Linked DNA regions of Homo sapiens: region 1 is linked to region 2. Evidence: promoter capture Hi-C in human tissues and cell types (Jung and others, 2019). All regions are on one chromosome and are shown on one strand. The core of a region is centred on a gene start or on the middle of the fragment in contact, and the rest is flanking DNA. Distances in the headings are between cores, read along the strand shown.

What was found. Contacts are between HindIII fragments. The study calls those that stand out against the background at their distance.
Region 1: a fragment that was not itself captured here is called in contact with the fragment with the promoter of ANXA2 in region 2 in 1 of the 25 tissues and cell types used here (H1 embryonic stem cells).

What each region holds. Positions count from the first base shown.
Region 1 is chr15:59,877,033-59,883,550 of GRCh38, reverse strand. No RefSeq gene overlaps it. Among named protein-coding and RNA genes, the nearest start is that of FOXB1, 120 kb to the left of the region's middle. The HindIII fragment of the contact is 5,189 bases long and covers 1-4,436 here.
Region 2 is chr15:60,395,899-60,403,014 of GRCh38, reverse strand. It overlaps ANXA2 (annexin A2), which reads left to right and starts at 5,029. Exons shown (of 13, transcript NM_004039.3): 1 at 5,029-5,072. RefSeq lists silencers at 4,297-4,606, 4,727-5,266, 5,337-5,476 and enhancers at 5,637-5,826, 5,847-5,896, 5,957-6,006, 5,500-6,091, 6,092-6,683. The HindIII fragment of the contact is 12,062 bases long and covers 1-5,978 here.

The DNA.
Region 1 (6,518 bases), core at 593-3,092, 520 kb after region 2:
ATTGCAAGAGCCCCTCACAGGATCTTGGAAGGGATTTTGCAAGTGAGGGCCCTCAAAGCTTAATCTTTGTTAGCTTCACAGCTAATCAGCCGCTGCTTAGGAATTGTGGGATGTGGGTAAACCAATCACCTGCTTCCTCCTTGACCTGGAAGCCCCCTGCACTAATGTGAGTCAGCCAATCCCTTCCTCCAGACTGCCAGGCCCCACACGGCCTCCCCACCATCAGACTTCTCTGCCTGAGCCCAGATCAGGCCTCCCTCCTCCATCTCTCCTGACCTTAACTCAACACTGTTTCCTCTCCTCCAAGAATACCAGGTGCAATTTTTTTTTCCCATTTGTTTTTATTTTCGGGAGTCATCAGTTGATTTTTTTTACATTGCAAACCCCATTTTATTTCTGTCACTATTCTATCTATCCTATATTCTGCCTATATTAATTCTGCTTCTAGATTTGTTTTTTTTTTTTTTTTTTTTGACAAAGAAGTTCCCCCAAAATGCATCCTGTCTGTTTCATGGATGCATTACTTTGTGGAAATTTAGTAGAGCTCTTGGCTCCTGATGCTAGGGACCTCTGTTTTGCTATTATCCCATAGGGTCATTATTTATCTTTGTTTTTTGTTTGTTTGTTTGTTTGTTTATTTTTTGAGACAGAGTCTCGCTCTGTCGCCCAGGTTGGAGTGCAGTGGCACAGTCTCGGCTACTGCAAGCTCCGCCTCCCAGGTTCACGCCATTCTCCTGCCTCAGCCTCCCAAGTAGCTAGGACTCTGGGACTACAGGCGCCTGCCACCACGCCTGGCTAATTTTCTTTTTTGTATTTTTAGTGGAGACGGGGTTTCACCATGTTAGCCAGGATGCTCTCCATTTCCTGACCTCGTGATCCGCCCGCCTCGGCCTCCCAAAGGGCTGGGATTACAGGCGTGAGCCACCGCGCCTGGCCTTATCTTTGTTTTAATCTGTCTCTGACTGAACGATTAGTGCAGTGAAAGAGTCAGGAGTCTTGCAGTTTCAAGTGATGTATGTCTCAACTCAACATAGCTTATGCAGAATGGAAAAATGGTTGTGGTTCATGTAACTGAGATGTCCAAGTTTGGTTTTGACTACAAACACAGTAGGACCCAAGGGCATAAACAGCATTGCCATCTTTTTCTTTATCTCTTGGCTCTGCTTCTCCCGATGGGGTGGCCTTACTCTCTTCCACTGTAGATGCGCATTGAGGTCCACAGTTACCTAGGCACTCCAGGCTTACATTATCATAGCCCATGATGTAAGAGGGGAAAAAAAAGTCTGTCTTTCTTGGTGTGTTCTATTAAATCTCATGAAATGACTCTAATTAGCTCAGTCTTGGTCACATGCCCTTCTCTTGGCCTAATCTGAATAGACAGGGTATGGCCAGACCATGCTCACTTGCCTACTCCTGTCTTCAGAAAGCTGGGCATCACAATTGGCACTTGCTCTTCAGCACTGATAACTGGAGTGCAGAGAAGTCCCCCAAAGAAACAGGGCGGCATCCTAGACAAATCAAAATGACATACATGCCCTACTCATAGGTAAAGCTAAATGCTATTGACAAATGGAAATGTTTTCATTAAACTTCACATAATTTATTTCTTGCTTCCCTAAATCTGCAATTTTATTTCATCATTGTGAAAGTCATTTAAAATTAGCCTGACATACAGAATCTTTGGTATTCTATTATATGCCTACATTTCAATTAGGTCCTTGTTGTAGGTCAGTTTCCCGGGAAACAGATTCTGAGACTCTGAGATTTATGTACAGAGCAGGGAATGAAGGAGGCAGAATCGGGCAAAGGAGAAAGGTAAACTGCCATGTAGTGATATTTTGGGAGCTTTGGAACATGGATGGTCCTTCAGCATTGTCCCAATTGAGGTAAGGAGGTTATAGCCTCCTTTGACCACCTTTGAATGGCAGCTGCCCCAAGGAGCCTGTGGCTGATGACAGTTTCTGGAGAGGACTCAGCTGTGAGCCATCAGTAGCCAACACTCCCAGCAGCTGGGAAAGTGAATTGCTAGGTCCTGAAGGGGAATTTGAGTAGCATACCACTGCATACACTTCGGTGGATTTTCAAACAGTGGAAACAAGGCTCATGTAATCCTAATATTTAATTTTTTTTTTTTTGAGACAGAGTCTCGCCCTGTCACCCAGGATGGAGTGCAGTGGCGTGATCTCAGCTCACTGCAACCTCCGCCTCCCAGGTTCAAGCGATTCTCCTGTCTCAGCCTCCAATGTAACTGGGATTACAAGCGCCCACCACCATGCCTGGCTAATTCTTTGTATTTTTTTTAGTAGAGACAGGATTTCACCATATTGGCCAGGCTGGTCTCGAACTCCTGACCCTGTGATCCACCCACTTCAGCCTCCCAAAGTGCTGGGATTACAGGCGTGAGCCACGATGCCTGGCCCTAATATTTAAATATTAAAGGCCAAGTGTGGGCAGATAGATTCTCATATATGTTATCACTTATATGTATTAAAGTGATATAAAAGAAAAATTTTATATCTTTTAATATTTTTCTTTTAATACTGAGTCATTCAGTTTAGAATCTGTATTTTAAACTCTTTCTTCCAGTATGATAAATGTTCTTTGTTGTTTCCAAATGCATGATGTAAATTCCAATTCTGATGTAGCCTATAGAATCTCTATAAACATGACTTAAAGATACAAAGCAGGCCAGTGTTTATGTTGCTGTCTTGTACGCAGACCTGGAACCCCTGCCTGCTTGGAAGAGAGCTAAATGTATGGTAGTCCCTCAAATCTTGGGCTTTTTCAGACCAGGGTTGGCAAGATAACTGCACTCAAGACTCCCCTATCCTTAGTATGCTTTCCTTTCAGCCTCCCGGCCTTCCTGACAGCTATCAGCCTAGTCAATTGGACTTGGCAGGTGCGAGGAATCCAATTTAGCATCCCTGGTTTAGACCTTGAGCAATCTGCACTCACAATTCACCTACTTAGCCTCTTTATCCACATCTCCTAGTTTTTGACCTGTTTTGGCACTAATTACCCTCATCCCCCCAATTTTAGAATAAGAGGCCTTTGGACTTGTTCCCTTACATCAAATCCTGGGATTGACTCAACATGCAGGTTGGATTTTCCTCCAGTTGGCCCATCCAATTATAGGCAGATCTCATGCTGTCTCTGCAACACTCTTGACCTCCCTACCAACATTTCTAATCAATCAGGTGACTTCCCATTTGAGCGGAGGTGTAAATGTGTTTAAAGCAGGGATCACATCTGGCATTCCAAGGGCTAGATCTGTTAAGCAGCCAAGTTTTATTTGCCTATACCATGTTTTAAAAAAATTGAGCCAATATTCAACAATTTGGAAATTTCATCCACAATAAAATCCAATTTCTCTCTTCTCTTAAAAAAATTGGATGATCCAGCAATGCAAACAAGCATTTCTACCCAGCAACACTTGGCTGAAGATGAAGAACTACTGCCTCCAGCTCACCCAGTTCCACACTCACAGTTGTGTTATGCCTGCTCTTTCCAGTCACTTGTGTTGCCTGCCTGGGTTCTGCAGTTTACAACCCTGGTTTAAATTAGTATCCCTCCCAGGTGATACTTGACATCCAGTGCAAGTTATTGGCAGTAAAGAAGGGCCAAAAGCCTGATGCAATCAAAGGAGAGGTAAAGAAGAAAATCAAACCCTGGGTTTTCTATAACATATTTCCAGATGCAGAAAAACAAGGCTTGTCTTCTTTGCTGATTTCACAGAACAAATGGCATTCCATCTGTGAAATGCACTGTGGTTTTCAGCAGAGACAGTCCAGAGTGAATCATTTGTAACCTCTGCCACTTGTTACATATCTGTTACCAAGGAGTAGACTGGGGAAAGTTTAGGAAACTACGTGGCATGTTCCGTCCTTCTGGGTTATGGATGCTGCCAAGTGAAAATGTGAGATGTGTTGCCAAAGACAACACAGTCTTTTATTTGACACAGAAAAAAGCAACATTCTGATTTCCCTGTCTTAAGAACTGTTTCCTCTACAATCTGGCAAGGCATGCTTATGGAACTCATGGCAACCTGCTCCAGGTAGACTTTTTTCTTATTTTAAGGCTTACAGCAGATGAAGAGAACACAGGAGGAAAGGAATTAAAAATGAATTGCTTCAGAGTAGCGGAGGTACTACTGGTGATAGATAGGTGGGAAAAGGTGAATGGGTTTCCCAGTGCAACGTGAGAAATATTATTTTGTTTATACTCCCTATCAATTTTAAAAAGGAAAATACCTTCCTCTGGCTCTTATTAATTTTTAAAACCAAAATACCTCCATCCAGATATTCTAGTTTAAGTATGTCTTCAAATCAGTTATAATGTTTTCCTGCTTTAAAAAGTGGGGGTTGGGGGGACACGTTAAACTACAGAAGCATAGTTGTCGGGGGGTGGAGGACTGTCTTCCTTGCAGGATTGGGGATTAAGGGGCTGATGCATTTGCAGACTTCATTATGTTAAGTACTCTGCTTAGAGGTTGGTTCAATCTCTGCTCCCTCCACCCTACCCCCACGCCTTCTCTTGGCACATTACTTCTTGTAACATACATTTCTTAATTTAATGAGTTCATTAGTCTGTTATAGCTTTTCCATAGCTAGAATTGGCCAGAGCAGTGATGAATGGTTTATCAGGAAAGTAGCTCAAGGGTAGGCCTTCATAGATACTGTGCAGTACCTTAATCAGGAAATCCAAAGGGCTGCTGGTGGGGAGGGGGAGGGAAGGACATTTGGATCACGGGAGAATTTCTTCCCCTGGGTCTCCTGATTCAGAAACATTAAAAAATCTAATGCAGCTTTATTCTCCATCCTCCTTTAAGCTCTAAATATCTGTCTTTTGGGCATGGGCTGTAATAGACTAGGGCTTTAGGACCAGTTTCTCTGAGAATCAGCCAGTGTTCAAGAAGGGCCCTTGACACCATTCTGACTTAATGCTAGACACATCTGCAGCTACTTGGACAAAATTGACATTGTCTGGAGTGCAAAGCAATTGCCTAGCACAGCATTAGGGAGCATTTACTCTTGAGCCGTGCTACCAGACAGCAAATCTTGACCTTTAGGAGTTCAGAGATTAGATTTCGTTGTTGCAGGCGTTGAAGATATTGTTAGGAATTTCTTGCTATTCAAAGCAGATTTCAGGGGTTACCTATGGGTTTAATTCATCACATCAATCATTTTTTGGAAGGTTCTTTTAAAGCCAAGATAGCTTCAAATAAAAACTAGGATTACTTTTACATTGATTGTCGGTAGTTGGTGAGGAGCAAAGGGGGAACACTCTTGAGATGCTGTTAAAGTTTTCGTATTTGTTCCTTTGCTAGCAGGCATTCTGTGGTATTGGGGAGAAAGGCATGTTTCTCCAATAGGCATTCAAAGCAGTTGCTGCAGGAACAGGCAGGAAATGAGAATAAGGATTTGACTACCCTCTGGTGTAGATCTCTCAAGCCCTTTAACACATTCAGTGCACAGATCTCCTGCGGGTTATCTCAAAGTGCATCGTTTAAAACAAGACCTGTTTAAGCCAATAGGGGTTAAATAGGGCTTATTTTGTTGAACCAGCCTGTATAGGTACCCAGTCCCACCCTCTGTTTGTGTATGGGTGTGTCTCTGTGTGTGCATATATAGAATGTGCATGTGTGCACACATGTGCGTATGGACAACTTCTTTTATTTGGAGGTCAGTTTCCCACCCCTCTTGATCCCAAAGGTGTACGGAAAAGATTTCTGAGGGTCTCTGAAAAGGAAGTGCTGTACAGTGCTGGACTCCAGCCATGTGCTTCTTTTAGAAGACTTTCACAATGATCCTTACTGATTTTTATTTACCTTGCAATTGCTATTCAGAATTTTTACTCAGTTCTCTAATCCATAGTCGATCAAATACCTTGAGACCTTATCTTCATTGTATCTGTTCACCTCTCCAAATTTGCTTCTTATTTCTCAAAGAGGGAGTTTGCACTAGATAATCCTATAGCACTGATTTTATTGCAGCTAGGTGATAGGAGCACTTTTCAAGGTAGGTGCAGTAGCAACAAAAGAAACAACTAGAGCCTAGGAAGGGAGGGGTTGCATACTCTAGCACAGGTAGCGAGCTGCCACCCCATGGCATAATAATGGGGAACTGAGACATCAATGAATGGTTACCTGCAAGTCAGCATGTTTAGCTTAAAAAGTCAGGATAATGGGTAATTATTGTAAAGTACATTTTAGAAATATTTTTCGCTAGAATTGTCAGCATTTAAAATTTCATTGCTGGAAAGAGGAAGCTCCATGATCAATCATAACTCCACAGTAGGTTGTTGCTTGATGCGGCTGAATATATGAGTCTCGCTCTGTCGCCCAGGCTGGAGTGCCATGGCACGATCTCAGCTCACTGCAACCTCCACCTCCCAGGTTCAAGCAATTCTCCTTTCTCAGTCTCCTGGGTAGCTGGGACTACAGGCACCTGCCACCACGCCCGGCTAATTTTTGTATTTTTAGTAGAGACAGGGTTTCACCATTTTGGTCAGGCTGGTCT
Region 2 (7,116 bases), core at 3,780-6,279:
AAATGCCAAGAGAAGTAGTCAAATCTGCCTGAAGGGCTTGGGAAAGCCTTTGCTCTGCAGTAGAAAATAATATTTACTCTGAGGCTTGATGGATGAGGCAAAGTTCACCACTGAGGAAAGCAGGAAAGGGCATTCCAGCAGGAAAACAGGATGGAGGAAGGTACAAAGCATGAATGAGCCTGGCCTGTCCAGCAGTGGCACATGGAGCGGTGAAGAGTGAAGATGTGGGGGAATGAGGCTGCCCAGGTAGGTCAGAGCCCTGCTGGGAAGAGTTTCTGGAGAGGGGTCATATAATCAGAATTATGTCTCAGAAAGAGAATTCTGGCTGTCTCAGAGAATGAACTGAGGTCAAAAATGTCTGTTACAGCTGAGAAAGAGACATTGAAGTCACTGCAGATTTTTCCCTGGAAATGCCTCCAAACAAAATAGACATTGTGGTTTGTCCATACCAAGAGTACTCTGTGTGGTTTGGGTCATGACACGTGAATTCAACAAGGATTTATTGAGGTCTTACTATGCGTTCAGCAAGGCCAGCTGCTGCAAAGACTAAAAAAGCCAATGAAATAACTATGGCTTTTTTCATCACCTACAATATACCAGACATTCTTTATACATTTTTTAATCTTTTTTTTTTTTTTTGAGACGGAGTCTCACTCTGTTGCCAGGCTGGAATGCAGTGGCATAATCCTGGCTCACTGCAACCTCCGCCTCCCAGGTTCAAGCGATTCTCCTCCCTCAGCCTTCTGAGTAGCTGAGATTACAGGCACGCGCTACCAAGCCCAGCTAATTTTTGTATTTTTAGTAGAGACAGGGTTTCACCATGTTGGCCAGGATGGTCTGAATCTCTTGACCTTGTGATCCACCCGCCTTGGCCTTCCGAAGTGCTGGGATTACAGGTGTGAGCCACCACGCCCGGCAAAAACTTCTTTTTAAAGACTCCAAGAAAGATTTAATGTGGTACTTCGAAGACGATCTCAGGGCTTCTAAGAATCTTAAGTGCATTGTCCCACTGCAGCCTGACATGTAAAGTAGAGAGAGATCTATTTAAAAAAAAAAAAATGAATGTGAATCTTGGAACATGGAATTAAACCTCAGCAAGATTTATATAAATAAAGTTTTTGAGAAAATTGTATATAAATCTTGGAGCATGGTGTGAACCTTAATAAGATATGGAAAATCTACATGGTTTTTAAGATACTTGTATTAATGAAACAACTGCCAGCTTAAACCAGAAAAAGTGCAAAATGAAAAGAAGTTTCTAGACCTTTCAGTTTCTCCTGGCATGAATGAAGCAGACTGAGAGAACTGCTCAGCTACAAATATGGGCCATTCTTTTTTTTTTTTTTTTTCTTGAGACGGAGTCTCGCTCTGTCACCCATGCTGGAGTGCAGTGGTGCGATCTCAGCTCACTGCAACCTCCCCCTCCTGGGTTCAAGCCATTCTCCTGCTGCTCAGCCTCCCGAGTAGCTGGGACTACAGGCGCCCGCCACCACGCCCAGCTTAATTTTTTGTATTTTTAGTAGAAATGAGGTTTCACCATGTTGGTCAGGCTGGTCTTGATCTCCTGACCTCATGACCTGCCCTCCTCAGCCTCCCAAAGTGCTGGGATTACAGGCGTGAGCCACCATGCCTGGCCTGGGCCATTCTTAAGAAAAGGAAATACATCTTAAAGGGAGGAGCCTAGATATCAGAGGGCAAAACCAAAAACTTGAGTAGGGCAATGGATTAAAACAAGGATCAGCAAACTACAGCCCATAGGGCAAATCCAGCCTATTGCTTGTTTTTGCACAGCCTGTGAGCCAAGAGGCCTGGCAGCTTCAGCTTTTGCTTCTAGAAGGCTGGCTGCCATGACTACCGTGGTGTAGCAAAAGAGGAGAACCTGGAGGATGTAAGACCAAGGAAGAGAAAGGCCCAGCCTGCTCTTTGTCATTCTAGCAATCCCAGCTCAGGCGCCAGACGAATGAAGCTGCTTTCAATCTTCCAACCCCAACTAAGCTACCCAACCCAACATGCTGTGGAGGAGCACCAAGCTGTCCCCACTGGGTGTCCTGCTTAAATTGCAGAATTACAAGCAAGTAAATGGTTATGTTTAACCACTAAGTTTATGGGGATAATTTGTTATACTGCAAAGGTAACTGATACGAGGGCCTTGGGTGCATTATTTAATCCCTGGACTGGGCAGGAGATTTTATTTGGACTCCAATTTCTTCATATGTAAAAATCAAGAGCCGGGTATAGTAATTCACGCCTGTAATCCTAGAACTTTGGGAGGCTAAGGTAGGCAGATCACTTGAGCCCAGAAGTTCGGGACCAGCCTGAGCAGCATAGCAAGACTTTGTCGTCTCTACAAATAATAGAAAAATTAGCCAGGCTTGGTGGCGTGGGCCTGTGGTCCCAGCTACTCAAGAGGCTGAGAGGAGAGGATTTCTTGAGCCTCCGCAGTCAAGGCTGCGGTGAGCCCTAATCATGCCATGCGTTCCAGCCTGGGTGACAGTGTGAGATCTCAACTAAAAGATATAAGAATAATAATAGTAAAAATCAAGGATAGGGCAATTTAATCTCTAGGGTCCCTCCCTGCTTTAACATTCTATTATTCAGTGAATAATTGTATTTTATCATTCTATCACATTTAGTGAGTGCCTATCATTGCTAGCTAGGCGCTAGTAGGTGTTGAGTGCAGCAGATGAAGTGTGAACAAAACAAAGTCAAGCACTTAGAGAGCAATATGGACAACAGCAGACAATCTGAGGGCTGATGTAAACATTCTCCTCAACCAGGGGGGAAAATAGAGTCTTCTGACTAATAAAAGATCTTTTATACTGGAAGAACTGGCCTCACATTCCTCAGAAATAGCAAACTATGACTTCTAATAGCTTCATTTTTATGATAACATCAGTGCACATTTCTTTAGCATGATGCAAAGACTGGTGATTGTACAAATCTATAGAAGTTAGAATTTGTGGCATGCCCAAGATGAGCACAAAACTCTTTTGGACATTTGATGGCTTTTATATATTCCACATGATTTGAATTAAATTTTATCTTCTGTAAAGGGCCTATCACAGCACGATTAGGAGTAAGAGACTGTGGAACCTATCTTGAGATACACAGAAGGGAGGCTGAATCGTGCCCAATATTACTGTCTGCCTGTGTTCCCCTAACCTTCCAAAATGTTCACACAAAGTAAGCAGATAAACATTGTTTCTGACTTTGAAGCTTTCAGGCTAAATTGAAGAGCTATAAATGTAAATCAGCAATTGTACCCAAAGTGTTGCTTGATTTTCTATTTGGCTCTGTGGTAGGGCCCATCGCGTATAATTCCTCGTGAAAGCGCTGGGTAACAGAAAGCTTTGGGCGGGTTAAAAGACCTCAGCTGTGGCCGACTTTGCCTGTGTCACTCTATGCGAGTGGGCAGAGCACTGAATGTCTGTTGGCCTTGCTATCATTCTCTGATTCCCAGGAGTGAATTGACGCTCAAATGGAAAGTAAAAATGGATGTTAAGATAAATGGGAGATTGAAACACAGAATCATCAAAACCAGGAAAAAGAGCTGCAGGAAGTAGTGTGCAAGGAGGGGTTTAAAAAACGCAGCCAGAGATCCTCGGGATTCTCAGCGTCGCTTTCCTGTTAGTTTGAGGTTCGAATACAGTATTTGCGTCGTCTCACATACAACAAATAGGTGTCTGCCTGCACGTTGCCAACGTGACTCTTGGAAGAAAAGCGAGAAGCAGCAAAACCGAGCAAGGGAGTTGGCTAAACGGCTGCAAGAAACACACACACACACACACACACACACACACACACGGAAGAAAAGCGAGAAACAGCAAAACCGAGCAAGAGAGTTGGCTAAACGGCTGCAAGAAACACACACACACACACACACACACGGAAGAAAAGTGAGAAACAGCAAAACCGAGCAAGGGAGTTGGCTAACTGGCTGCAAGAAACTCTCTATCTCACTCTCTCTCTCTCTCTCTGTGCTGCAAGAAACTCTCTCTCTCTCTCTCTCTCTCTCTCTCTCGGAAGAAAAGCGAGTAACAGCAACACCGAGCAAGGGAGTTGGCTAAACGGCTGCAAGAAACACACACACACACACACACACACCACACACGCACACACACACCCCAGCAGTCATGAAAGAAGGAGAGGAAAGTTCTTTGTTGAAACTCCGGGTTCGAAACACACACACACACACACACACACACACACACACACACACACACACACACACGAAACTCCGGGTTCAAAGCTATGGGCCCCACCCCGCTCAGGACTGCCTGCTACGAGGCCGCGCAGAGATGCCCCAGGCGCGGAGAGAAGCGGAGCACAGCCGTGCTAGGGACAGGGGCGCCACCCTGGGCGGGACTGAGGTGGGATCCTGGCTCCCGGCTTTGGCCTCCCAGCCCAGGCTCGGGGCTTCCTGGCCCTCGGAGGCCGGGGCGGGCCAGGCTTTGCAGCACAGGGCGAATCTCCCTCCCTCCCCGGGCGCCCCCCGGGAACTGGCGGCCAGAGGTTAAGCTGACATGTTTGCAGACGGTAATGGGGCGCTGGATGCCAACAGCCCCAGCTCAGGGGAGTCCAGATTTATGTTTCTTGGAACAATTCTTTCCTCCATTGCATTAACGCCAAAAAAAAAAAAAAAAAAAAAAAAACACTTAATCAAGCCCAGAGTCTACTACTAAAGTCTTGTTAATTTATTAACCCAAGCCGAGGCTGAGAGCTCGACGTGGCACTTAAGAAGTAAAATGAGGAAAGGAGGAAGAAACGGGGTCCCTGTGGGCCTCGGGGCAGCCTCGGCCGGGCTTTCTCGGAGGGCAGGGCCAGGGGCGCTGGGGCCGCTCCCGCGTGGCGCGGCTCGGGAGCGTTCCAGGGCGCGGTCCCTGCGGGCCGGCGGGCCGGGGTGAGTCACCCCTGACTTGGGGTGGGAGCGGGCCGTGTAAGGGGGAGGCGGGGCGGGGCGGGGCGGGCCTCGCCTCGCCTAGGGAGGATGTGGCGGGTATAAAAGCCCCACCCAGGCCAGCCGGCTCTGCTCAGCATTTGGGGACGCTCTCAGCTCTCGGCGCACGGCCCAGGTAAGCGGGGCGCGCCCTGCCCGCCCGCGATGGGCCGCCAGCTAGCGGGGTGTGGAGACGCTGGGAAGAAGGGTACGGCCTGGCAGGGAGGCCCCGGCAACTGGCCCCGGAGGCCGTCGGGGGCAGGGGGCTGAAGGGACGGCCGGCACTGGAGAGTCTTTGGGGAGGGGGCTCAGGGACAAGGTGTTTGGGGCAGGGGTGAGGGGCCACCGGCCCTCGGGCCGGGAGGGTGCAGGGCAGAGGTGGTGGGGGGTCGGGCTTCTCTAAGAAGCCCTAGCGGGAGCGGGGCGAGGCGGCGTGGGGAGAGGGGCGGAGGGAGGCCCCGCATTCCAGACGCGCCAGGCGCCGCCGAGGCAGGGCGTGGCCGCCCAGGGAGCCGCAGGTCCCCGGCGCAGCAGTAGCAAGTGGGCTTTCCACTGCCCTCTAGAAAGTGCCCCCCATCTGCTCTAAGTTACTGTACTCGAAACAAACGCGCGCTTGTGGAGTTGAACCGACCAGCAGGAGGGAAGTAGCGGGGGAAGACGAGAGGGGGGAGTGTGAGTAGGCACCCCTCAGCCCCCCATAAAAGAAGACATTAAAACGTCAGTTATTCCCCTTGCTCTAGGTTATCTTGTAGCATAGCAACTTCGGATTTCACTCTACCCGGAGAGTTTCCCGCTTGGTTGAACACATTGGCCTCAGGAAGGTAGTGTCCCCCATGATTCTGTGGGGAGGGTTGTCCTGTTACTCGCCATGATGTGACAATGAGTCAGGAACTGAGAGTAGAGAGAAGGGCGTGGCCCCGGGGCCTCTCCCTTCTGGCCGCTCTGTGCAGCTGGCCCCACTGCTGGTGTGGAGGGCTTGGGTTCCATCAGCCGGCTGTTGAGAAGAAGGAGGGGAACACAGATAAGTTTCCTCATCTGGGAAGGTGGCTTAAGGATGCCTATTCTTACCACCACCCAGAGTTATTGGAGATTTCAAAAAACACAGTCATTAGGTAATAAATGTGTAAAGTACACAAAAAACAAAGTGCTGTGCAAATGCAAAGTGTCATTTTTGTAGTAAGATTGCCGTTTTAAAGCTGTGGGTGTTCTGAGTGCGTGTGTAAAAGAGCAGTGGCCTCATGGGTGCACGCTGGGCCATTACCAAGAACCTTAAGTTGTTGGTGTGCAAAGGCCTGGGCCCCAGACTGTACTGATGGATTCTGTTCACACGTGTGTGCTACTGTGCCTGTCTGGAACTTGGTGACTTGGAATGCAGAATGCACTTTCCCACTGAAACAGTGTTGCAGAAGGTGCTGACGTTCCCAGGCTAGCCCTGAAAGACCTTTTTAACATGCACTGCCTGATTATGGGATTGGTGGTGGGGAGGTGGAGGGTAGTGAGGGGCAATGTGTGTGTAGGAAGACTAAATCACTGAAATATTTTTCTGGAACTTTTTTTAGCTTTAAGGTTGACACTGAGTAAATTATTTTAATTGGAAAATTATGTCTTTGCCCCTGTTCCACTTTCTTTTTTCCACCTTCCACCTCCTTAGAGACGCTCTTCTGGCTCTTCCGTGACGCATTACAACAGCCATCCAGGCCGGTCCAGTTACGCTGCATTCCTTCCTCCTTCCCATTTCGGCGGACCTGCATCCAGCTAGAGACTAGCAGATTGAATCGATATTCATTAAGTTAGGAATGGTTGGTGGTCCTAAGAGCCTCAGCAACCGAGAGGAGTCTTGTTATTTAAAAAACAACGATACTGGGCGTGGTCGTGGGCCTGTAGTCCCAGCTGCTCAAGCTAGTGGATCTCTTGAGTCCAAGGCCAATGTGAGCAACATAGCAAGACCCAGTCTCAAAAAATAAATACATAATAATAATAAAAAACCCTCGTTCACCTAAACAGATCTATAATTTATAGAATGTAAAGCAGCAATATTCAGGCAATATTAAGGAAGATTTTTGGTAAGACTGGGGCAGCAGAGGTGCCCTTGATGGGCAAGGGCCAGGAGTGTTAACACAGTCCTGCTTAGTAATTTCTTCCCTTCTTCCAAGTCTGTCGATTATCTAAAGGTCAAGGGT